4 separate regions of the Homo sapiens genome follow, and regions 2, 3 and 4 are each linked to region 1. Evidence: promoter capture Hi-C in 16 types of primary human blood cells and fetal thymus (Javierre and others, 2016). All regions are on one chromosome and are shown on one strand. The core of a region is centred on a gene start or on the middle of the fragment in contact, and the rest is flanking DNA. Distances in the headings are between cores, read along the strand shown.

Region 1 (2,525 bases), core at 7-2,506:
TGGAATAAAATAAGCTAAATGCATGAGGTAGGCCCCTAACTTCTGACAACACGCCCCATCGATTTCCTTTCTGAAAGCAGAAATTCAAACGAACCAACCACCTGCTTTTGGACAGCTCAACTTAGGACTTGCTCTCAAGCCAACACAATTTTCTACAAAATCGTAGGCAGCTACAACCGCTCCTTGATTAAATGCGACAAACTGGAGGGAAAAAGTCACTTACAAATACCTACATGCTGGTTTTTAATGCAACTCTCAGTGTGGTTTTCCGAGGGGGCTGCAAAGAGGGAAGTAGTGGAAGAAACGAGTTCTAAAATGAGGCGCTCTCGTAGGAGGCAACAAGTAAGCTCTGCCCCAAAGCTCCTTTTAAAACCAACATAAATGAGTAACAGAAGAAAAGGATTTTGGGTCCAGGAAGTAGGCTCATTCTCCATAACCATCGGAAAGGAAGAGGCCCAGGCAGCGCTCCACATCCTGACCCTAGCTTTTAACACCATCGTTTTGGGGAGAGGAGAGGAGGAACGCACCCACAGTGAGGTCTCCACCCAACACTTCTCCGACCCCAGCTTCAGCCTGGCGCACCTTCCTTCCCAAACCCGCCTCTCCCGCCTCGGAGACCCCCTCCTCCTCCCTGCCACCAAAGGCCACGCAGCCCCCATCTAGCCAGTCCTCACGGACCCTGGACCAAGACGCGCCTCCTGGAGGCCGAGACTGCCCGAAACCCGGCCCCTGCGTCCACCGGGAGCGCCACACTCTGGCAGCTGACCGGCGGCTGTCGCCGGGGGTAAGGTTACCGCTCCGCTTCCGCGGCTGGCCTGCGACCCGGCCACCTGCAGGGCCTGGCAGGCGCCCGAACTCATCCCCTTCCCGCGGCCCGCCCCGGGCCGGGCCCTGCCGCCCCCCGCGACCCCTCGCGACCCGCGGCGAGTCCCACGGTCCCCACCGCCCCCCGCTGGCCGGCCCCCGCCCCGTTTCCCGGGCGTCCCGCGGCGTCAGCACCGCCCCCGCTGCCGCTCACCCGGGCCGGGACAGTCTTGCGTCGGAGAGACAGTGCAGCGCGAGAGGGCCGGGAGAGGACGCCGGAGGGAAAGGAAGGGGGAGCGCGCCCAGCACCGCTTGGGCCTCCTCCACCCGCTCAGGAGGGGAAACACGAGAGCCGGGAGCACAACAGCCTCGCACGCCCGCCGCCGCCGCGCGCCCGCCGCCGCCTCAGCCTTAGGGGAGACCACTACGCCTCGTGCCCGCGCACGCCGCGCCGCTCTCCTCGGCGCCCCCGCCCCGCCTGCTCCTCGCAGCCCCGCCCATGTGCCTTTCTGCGGCTGCCTCCTTCTGGCCCCCACCCCGCTCGCACGCCTGCGCCCTGGCTGGTCGCGCGGGCCAATGGCAGCGCGCCCCTATTACATAAGCGCGAGGGGGCGGGCCCTGGCTGACACAAACTTCAGGGGACGTCGCCTTCTGTCCCCAGGCGCCCCTCCTCTCCGGCGCGCTCGGTCCGGGCGGCTTCTTCACCCAGCCCTGGGAGCCACGTGATCCCGGTCCTGGTTGGTGACCGGGCCGCGGCGTGTTTCACAAGTCGCTCGCTCGCTCATCCACTCGGGCGGCGGCCGGGCCTCAGGCGCTGCGACCCTTTTCCCGCTCCTCCCAGGCTGACGCGCCCGTCTCGGCGCCGCCCTCCTCGGCACCGACTGAGGCGCTGGCCCGGGAGCGGATCGCGGGGCCGCGGTGGCTGAGTCACATTCCCGGAGCCCCGCCACCCAGGACACCGCGGCCCCGGCCCCCAGCGAGCCCGGCGGACCCAGCGGCTCTGAACGCGGACGCACAGCCTTTGTTCTTTCACAGCCGCCCTTTACCTCACTCCCATGGAAACCCCAGGTGTTTTCCCAAGCTGGGGGCTTTTAGTGAGTTCAAGATTCAAGCCTAAGTCGTATTAAAAATTGCTGGCTAGGCCGGGCGCGGTGGCTCACGCCTGTAATCTCAGCGCTTTGGGAGCCCAAGGCAGGAGGATCACTTGAGCCCAGGAGTTCCAGACCAGCCTGAGTACATAGCGAGACCCACGTCTCCACAAAAATAAAATAAAATAAAATAAATAGTGGAGCATGGTGGCCCGCGCCTGTAGTCCCAGCTACTCGGGAGGCTGAGGTGGGAGAATCGCTTGAGGCCGGGAGGTGAAGGTTGCGGTAAGCCGAGATCGCGCCATTGCACTCCATCCTGGGCGACTGAGTGAGACCCTGCCTAAAAAAAAAAAAAAACAAAAAAAGAAAAAAAAATTGCTGGCCAGGCTTCCCGGAGGGGTTTAGTTTGACTGCTAACAATATACGGTACTGAGTTGCTAATCCTTCGGGGAATGGTTAAAGTTCTTTGCGCGCGCTCTCTCTCCATTTACAGGCAGTGGCAGCAAACTTTCAATATCTGACAAGAGCAATGGCGATTATAACCATGATTAAAATTGCTGAATATCTGGAAACAGTACTTTAGACATCAGCTTTATTGTGCATACTTACCCCCGACCCCCGCCACATTCGTTT
Region 2 (2,525 bases), core at 20-2,519, 990 kb before region 1:
ATATAATTATGAATAGAGATACTTTTACTTTCTTTCCAATTTGGATGCCTTTTATTTCATTTTAGTGCCTAATTGATCAGTCTACAACTTTTAGTACAGTGTTGAATAGCCGTGGTGAAAATGGGCATCCTTGTCTTGTTGCTGATGTTTAAGGGAAAGCTTTCATTACTTTTATCTTTGAATATGATGTTGGCTCTGGGTTTTTCATAAATATACTTTATTATGTTGAGGAATTTCACTTCTATTCCTAGTTTTCTGAGTTTTTTTTTTTTTTAAATCATGAAAGCATGTTGGATTTTGTCATGCCTTTTCAGCATCAATTGTGGGATCATGTATGCAATTCTTTACTTTTTCTGTTAATGAGGTGTGTTGGCATTGATTGATTTTCTAATGCTGAACTACCTTTGTATTCCTGGGATAAATCCCACTTGGCCATGGTGTATAATCCATTCAGTATGCTGTTGAATCTGTTCGCTAGTATTTTGCTGAGGATTTTTGGTCTATCAACTACTCACACTACCCTACTTGAGGCTACACTGTTGGCCATTCATTCCTTTGATAGTTGTTATTGTTGACTCCTTTCTTCCCAAACTACTCTTGGTGTTTCTGAGGCAGTATGCGCTCCTGTTTTTTTCTCTCATTTCTAGGCATTTCTGTGCCTACACTGTAGATTTTTCCTCTCTTCATCCTTTAAGTGTTAGTATATCTCAGGGATCCTTATGAGCCTTTGAGTGATCCCATCCACATCCAAACTTTTATTTTTATTTTTTGTAGAGATGGAGTCTTGCTATGTTGCCCAGGCTTGCTTCAAACTAGTGGCCTCAAGCAATCCTCCTGCCTCAGCCTGCCAGAGTGCTAGGATTATAGGGGTGAGCCACCTTGCCAGTTCCACACCCAAACTTTTTTTTTTTTTTGAGATGGAGTTTTGCCCTGTCGCCCAGGGTGGAGTGCAATGGTGTGATCTTGGCTCACTGCAACCTCCACCTCCCGGGGTCCAAATGATTCTCCTGCCTCAGCCTTTTGAGTAGCTGGGATTACAGGCACCTGATACCATGCCCAGCTAATTTTTGTATTTTTAGTAGAGACAGGGTTCACCATGTTGGCCAGGGTGGTCTCGAACTCCTGACCTTGTGATCTGCCTGCCTCAGCTTCCTAAAGTGCTGGGATTACAGGCATGAGCCACCGTGCCCGGCCCCAAACTTTTATATATTAGTAACTCCCAAGTCACTGTCTCTGGATAAGGCCACTTCTCTGATCTACATGTAGAGCCACCCTCTGAACAGCTCCATTGCATTGTCCCACGGGTATCCCAACACCCAACAGAACTCACAAGTCTTTCATGTTTGGGCCTCTGTTTACCTGTCCAGAGACTATCAAAGTTGTTCAGAGCCATTTCAATCTTAAGGTAAGAATGCTTTGCATTCAGTTCAAATCTGGGTTATGGCTGGGCACAGTGGCTCATGCCTGCAATCCCAGGACTTTGGAAGGCCAAGGAGAGAGGACTGCTTGAGACCAGGACTTTGAGACCATCCTGGACAACATAGCAAGGCCTCATCTGTATAAAAAATTTTAAACATTAGCCAGGCATGGTGGCTGGCTCTCACCTGTAGTCCCAGCTGCTCTGGAAGCTAAGGGGAGGATTGCCTGCCCCAGAGGTTGAGGCTGCAGTGAGCTATGATGGCACCATTGCACTCCACCCTGGGCAATAGAGCAAGACCCTGTGTCAAAATAAATACAAACAAATAATAAAAATAAAAACAAGTCCGAGTTATGCTGGCTTCTAGCTCTGTGTACTAGAGCGCATTCCTTAGCTTCTTGTTTCTCTGTTGCCTCATTTGTAAAGTGGGAATGATAATACTTGGTATTAGGATTAATGTGATCCATATCAAGTTCTAAATGAACTGCAGCTCTTTAGTGATAGCATTGGTCAGACCCGAGGGGATACTGTGCAAAGGGGTGGAAAGTAATACCAAGCTGACCATTGTTTCTGCCGACCCTGACTTTTGTGCTTTCACCCAGTTTCTGGTGGAGAACCTGATTGACAGAAACCAGATTAAAACTGGAGCCTTACTCTAATAACCCTACTGGGTTTAATCTGCAGATTTATCTTTATAGCAAAATCTTTTTATTGTTTTAATAATTAAGATCCCTTTGGCTGGTGATCCAAATTGGATGTTATTCTGCTGTATAGAAAACAGTATTTATTAATGTGTTTTTATACTTGATGCTTGTCTTAAGGTGATCATCCACTGATTTTCACTTAAATAATTGTGCTTTTCTATTCCCTCTGTCTCTGTGCTTAAAATCTTGGCTTTACCATTCATGAAAAAGAATGGAAAATATATCCATTAAGAATCAGATAAGAATTCGTTAAAAGAGAAAGCTTGGAAATCTCTATATTTAAGTACTTTTTAACGGTGCTGTGAAATGATTAATTGCTTTGTTTTAAATATTGCTAAGACACCATAAATTAAATATTTACACATCCTTTTTATATTTAAAAATAGATTCAACAATTATTAAAG
Region 3 (2,525 bases), core at 16-2,515, 990 kb after region 1:
TGGAACTCTCTGCCAATTAGAGGTGACTGGGGGATTCTGGGGAAAGCATAAGCTTTGGTATCAATTAGAACTGGGACAGAAATCTGGATCTATCTGTATCACTTTAAACAAGGAGCAGAACCTCTCTGAAACTCATCTTGAAAATGAGAGAAATGTTTTATTTCCTTTTCTCATTTATGTGTTGACCCCACTCAGAGGGCAGACATTGTGTCTGTCTTGTCCACGGTTTTATCTCCATTACCTAACACAGTGCCTGGCACTTAGAAGACAATAAATATTTGTGGAGGGAAGGAGGAAAAAAATACTTTCCCTATAGGATTGTTAAGAGCACTAAATGAGATAACATATGTAAGAATCTGAGTTACATGTGCTCTATAAATGATGGATTCTAACCACCAGCTTATTTTGATTACATGACACCAGGCTTCTTGTTTCAGCTAATTATCATTGTCACCTCATCCATTCATTCATTGCAGAAATACTGAGCACCTGCTACAAGTAATGCAGGACAATAAAAACGTAAAGAGCATGGTCCCTACCTTAAAGCGGCTCAGTTACAATTTCAGTATACCATGTGCCACAGCGGTCATAAGTACAGAGAGCCATGAGCACACAGAGACTAGCCAGGAAAGGATGTAGGAGCAGGGAAAAATCTGGAGGTGGAGAAAAACTTCCTATGTTGAACTCTGGTGCCCATTGACAAAGCTGAGTCCCTGGAAATGAGTAGATGATGAATTTTATCACACACAAAAGATATGCTTGGAATAATTTTTTACCAGTCTCTTTCCTCAGAGATGTATCTGGATGTTGCCTTTAGCTGGTTAGACTCTGTCTCTTGGAGAACTGTATGAAGGGCAGTCCAAGTTCTCTGAGACTTTTGGCTCCAACAGATCCAAACCACCAGACAGCAGGAATTAGAAACAGGTGCTACCTATGGTCTGTGTATTAGTCCGTTCTCGCACTGCTATAAAGAAACTGAGACTTGTTAATTTATAAAGAAAAGAGGCTTAACTGACTCACGGTTCCTCAGGCCGTACAGGTAGCATGGCTTGGGAGGCCTCAGGAAACTTTCAATCACAGCAGAAGGTGAAGGGAAAGCAGGCATATCTCACATGGCCGGAGTAGGAGGAAGAGAGCAAAGTGGGAAGTGCTACACACTTTTAAACGATCAGATCTCGTGAGAACTCACTCACTATCATGAGAACAGCAAGGCGGAAGTTGGCCCCCTTGATCCAATCACCTCCCAATAGGCCCCTCCTCTAACACTGGGGATTACAATTCAACATGAGATTCGGGCGGGTCCACAAATCCGAAACATATCAGTCTGGAATTTAAATAAATTGAAGCAAGCATATCTTTATTTGCCACCAATTTATTACCCTAAGTTCTGGGCAAGACTTCTTGGAAAACTCCTCTAAATTTTTTGAGCAGCATCTAACATTTTACACAGTAGACCACGTGATGTGTTCTCAGGTTTCCAAAATTTGTCATATGCAGCCACTGGCCGGACATGCCATTGTGAGTTTCACCTGTACTATTTCTTTTCTTAACGTTTTTAAATTATTTTACTTAAAAAAAAAAAACTATTCAGGATCAGGCGTGGTGGCTCACACCTGTAACTGCAGCACTTTGGGAGGCCGAGGTGGGCAGATCACTTGAGGTCAGGAGTTCGAGACCAGCCTGGCCAACATGGTGAAACCCTGTCTCTACGTGTCTCTACTACAAATACAAAAATTAGCCGGGCATGGTGGCATGTGCCTGTAATCCCAGCTACTTGGGAGGCTGAGGCAGGAGAATCACTTGAACCTGGGAAGCAGAGAGCCGGGATCAGTGAGCCGAGATCACACCACTGCACTCCAGACTGGACGAAAGAGCAAGACTCCATCTCAAAAACAAACAAACAAACAAACTAAACTTTTCAAAGAAGATTTTCCAGATGTAATTAAAAAACAAGTATCAACTGCCCTTGCAGTCCCAATGTCTTCAAACATTATTGCCATTCCAGTCATGAAGTGATGCTCAAACACAATTCTCAGCAAGCCATGCCGCATGACCTTGAGACGGACAAATGAAGCTCTAAATTGACACCTGCCAATGGAGTGTGTTATGGAGGGTGTGTAGCTCAAAGGGATCGTATCCCACCAAAAAATCATCTTGACTTCCACCAGCTAGCAATAGAAATTTGGGTGCACTCAGTGAAAAGATGATGCGATTTAAACCATGATGCCTGGGTTGGGGTCATGCCTCTACCCCTTACTAGTTGTGTGACTTTGGACAGGAACTTAACTTCTCTGAGCTTCAAGTCCCAAATATCATTGTTATCATAATAATAATGATATTATTATGACAGCAATTTCTCATAAAATTGGTGAGCCAATGAAATTATTGCAATGGTATGACTGCAAAATCACCTTGTAAACTCTAAAGTATGCATAAATATTTATTAATTTCCTGAGAAATAAATCTTCCAAGATACAGTGAAGCTTACACTTTTACTGTCAGAACTTGGACATTATCATTATTGA
Region 4 (2,525 bases), core at 12-2,511, 950 kb before region 1:
TAAGTTATATTTTTCTTTTATTGTTTGCTTTTCCATAAGTTACTATTTTAAAAGTGCTCGGAAAGTATTTCACACTTCAAAGCACTGTAAAAGTGTTTAATACAAACATTCACAAGTGATAATTGTACAGTGATATCCCAAAGAATCTGGAGATAAACCATTGGAATTAAAAGAGTAAGATTCACCAGATACAAAATTGTTAATACAAAATCAATGGCATTTCTCTATACTATTAGTTACAAACAGAAAATGAGGCTGGGCGTGGTGACTTATGCCTGTAATCCCAGCACTTTGGGAGGCCGAAGCAGGTGGATCACTGGAGGTCAGGAGTTTGAGACCAGCCTGGCTAACATAACGAAACCCCTTCTCTACTAAAAATACAAGAAATTAGCTGGGCGTGGTGGTGGGACACCTGTAATCCCAGCTACTCAGGAGGCTGAGGCAGGAGAAACACTTGAACCCAGGAGGCAGAGGTTGCAGTGAGCTGAGATCGCACCACTGCACTCCAGTCTGGGCAACAAGAATGAAACTCTTTCTCAAAAAGAAAGAAAGAAAATGACATTTTAAAAATATACATTATAGGATAAAAAATATCAAGTACCTGGGAATGAAATTTAACAAAAGATGTAAAAGAATTCTATGGGGATAATTATAGATTCAATGTAATCCCAATCAAAATTAGTGAAACACAACAAGGTTATTCTAATATGTTTATGGAAATATAAAGTGCCAAGGACAGTCAAGACACCATCCAAGGAAAAAACAGTGGCAGACTTGCCCTATTAGATAGCAAATTCAGATTCCAAGACTGATGTCTAAATTGTCCACTAACTCACCTTGGAGATGTTTCTGAAAATGCTCATTCACCAGGTATGTTTTTACATGGTTCCTTCATTTCCTTTAGATCTTGGGACAAATGTCTTCTAGAGACTTTTCCTGTTCTGCCCTGTATAAAACAGTACTGCTTCCCCAAAATCCCAGTCACTCTTATTGTGCCCACCTCTAATTTTTCATAGCAATCATCATCTGGTTATTTTACATCTCGTTCCATTATTTTAAGCTACATGCATATGTTTATTATTTTTGTATCCTCCAAATTCTAATACAAGCCCTCTGAAGCCAGGGTGTTTGTTTATTTGGTACTATGCTGTATTTCCAGCATCTACTTTGTTGAACGAATAAATTGGTAGAAGTCACAAAAATTCTGACTAGCATATGATGTACAGTGATCCAATCTGAACTAAATTTTAAAACTGCAAACTTTTTCATATCCAGCTATTAAATAATAGCCACCCTAAATAACATAACTCTCCCCAAGTTTAGAATACTATTTTTGGCATTCAAAAATCAACCAGTATGTAAACACTGGCTGTTAAGCAATGATATCTCATGCTCTAGTGAAGGAAATAAATGAAACAACAAATCCATTAAAAGGAACCATATGAAATGCAGCCTTGAGAAAAGAATTTTTTTCCTTAGATCCAAGTACAGACTAGAATCTGTAAGAAGCGTGATGACTGTGAATGGAAAGGCAAAACAATCTATGGAGCAGGAGTTTCTTTTGCTCATGTCATGTAGCAATTAATAGCTCCGATAGTTTTCAACACATACTTTATCCTTTGGTGATTTGTCTATATGTTTACCTAAATAACAGGCTAGGGAAAGTCTTACATGTTTACAAATTAACACAATTTCCAGGAAAAATAAGTTAGGAGTGGTGGATTATGTGCATTTAATATAAAAAGCTAACTAATTAAGTGCTCTGAAGCTGGGAATTTGTACAATGAAGTGAATCTACCAGTTAAATTGGTGGTCTACATAATCAACAGTAGGATATACTATTATAATCTTTGTATTTCTTTTCTCTCATTACCAGATGATTTTTCCAACAGGCTTTAAAGTACAAAGAGTTTTAACAAGATTTCAGTGAGTTAAGGTTTATTTTGAATACCCTGGAGGTATCTCTTGTTCAAGGCTAGCCCAGAGTTGAGTTCCAGGGAAAACTGGCTTGGTCCTAAATTAATCCAACTTTGAAGGATACAGGAGACAAGGAATTTCTGAAGCTAGTTGAAAGGTCCAGGAGACAAGGAATTTTTGAAGCTAGTTTTAAGGTGAGACTGAAGTGGTACTGGTTGGGAGTATCACCAGAAGTAGGTGTAGGGTGAATGAATGCACCAGCCTCCTATAGGGCACTATTTTTGCTGTATTCCTCTGAAGATCATTTAGCTTTCCATTTCATCTTTAGCCTTTTAAAGAAATGTCAACAAGGCAGTCAACATATTCATAAGATTATTTTGGCCGAGCATGGTGGTTCACGCCAGTAATCCCAGGACTTTGGGAGGCCGAGGTGGGTGGATCACTTGAGCTCAGGAGTTTGTGACCACCCTGGGCAACATGGCGAAACCTCGTCTCTACTAAAACACACAAAAAAATTAGCCGGGCGTGGTGATGTTTGCCTGTAATCCCAGCTACTTGGGAGGCTGAGGCACGAGAACTGCTTGAGCCCAGGAGGCGGAGGTTGCAGT

Evidence for each region. The method cuts DNA at HindIII sites, captures the fragments that hold promoters and counts their contacts. A CHiCAGO score of 5 or more calls a contact.
Region 2: a contact is called between a fragment that was not itself captured here and the fragment with the promoter of ZNF706 in region 1, in 1 of 17 cell types (neutrophils). The highest score is 6.8, in neutrophils.
Region 3: a fragment that was not itself captured here is called in contact with the fragment with the promoter of ZNF706 in region 1 in 1 of 17 cell types (endothelial precursors); the score reaches 5.5 in endothelial precursors.
Region 4: a contact is called between a fragment that was not itself captured here and the fragment with the promoter of ZNF706 in region 1, in 1 of 17 cell types (neutrophils). The highest score is 5.1, in neutrophils.

Annotation. Positions count from the first base shown.
Region 1 is chr8:101,204,417-101,206,941 of GRCh38, forward strand. ZNF706 (zinc finger protein 706) reads right to left here and starts at 1,257. Exons shown (of 4, transcript NM_016096.5): 1 at 1,019-1,257. RefSeq lists silencers at 792-1,391, 1,602-1,821. The HindIII fragment of the contact is 4,829 bases long and covers 1-2,525 here.
Region 2 is chr8:100,209,932-100,212,456 of GRCh38, forward strand. The region is part of intron 10 of SPAG1 (sperm associated antigen 1); the gene reads left to right. Among named protein-coding and RNA genes, the nearest start is that of SPAG1, 53 kb to the left of the region's middle. The HindIII fragment of the contact is 2,224 bases long and covers 158-2,381 here.
Region 3 is chr8:102,198,377-102,200,901 of GRCh38, forward strand. No RefSeq gene overlaps it. Among named protein-coding and RNA genes, the nearest start is that of RRM2B, 39 kb to the right of the region's middle. The HindIII fragment of the contact is 2,431 bases long and covers 51-2,481 here.
Region 4 is chr8:100,253,930-100,256,454 of GRCh38, forward strand. No RefSeq gene overlaps it. Among named protein-coding and RNA genes, the nearest start is that of RNF19A, 55 kb to the right of the region's middle. The HindIII fragment of the contact is 5,674 bases long and covers 1-2,525 here.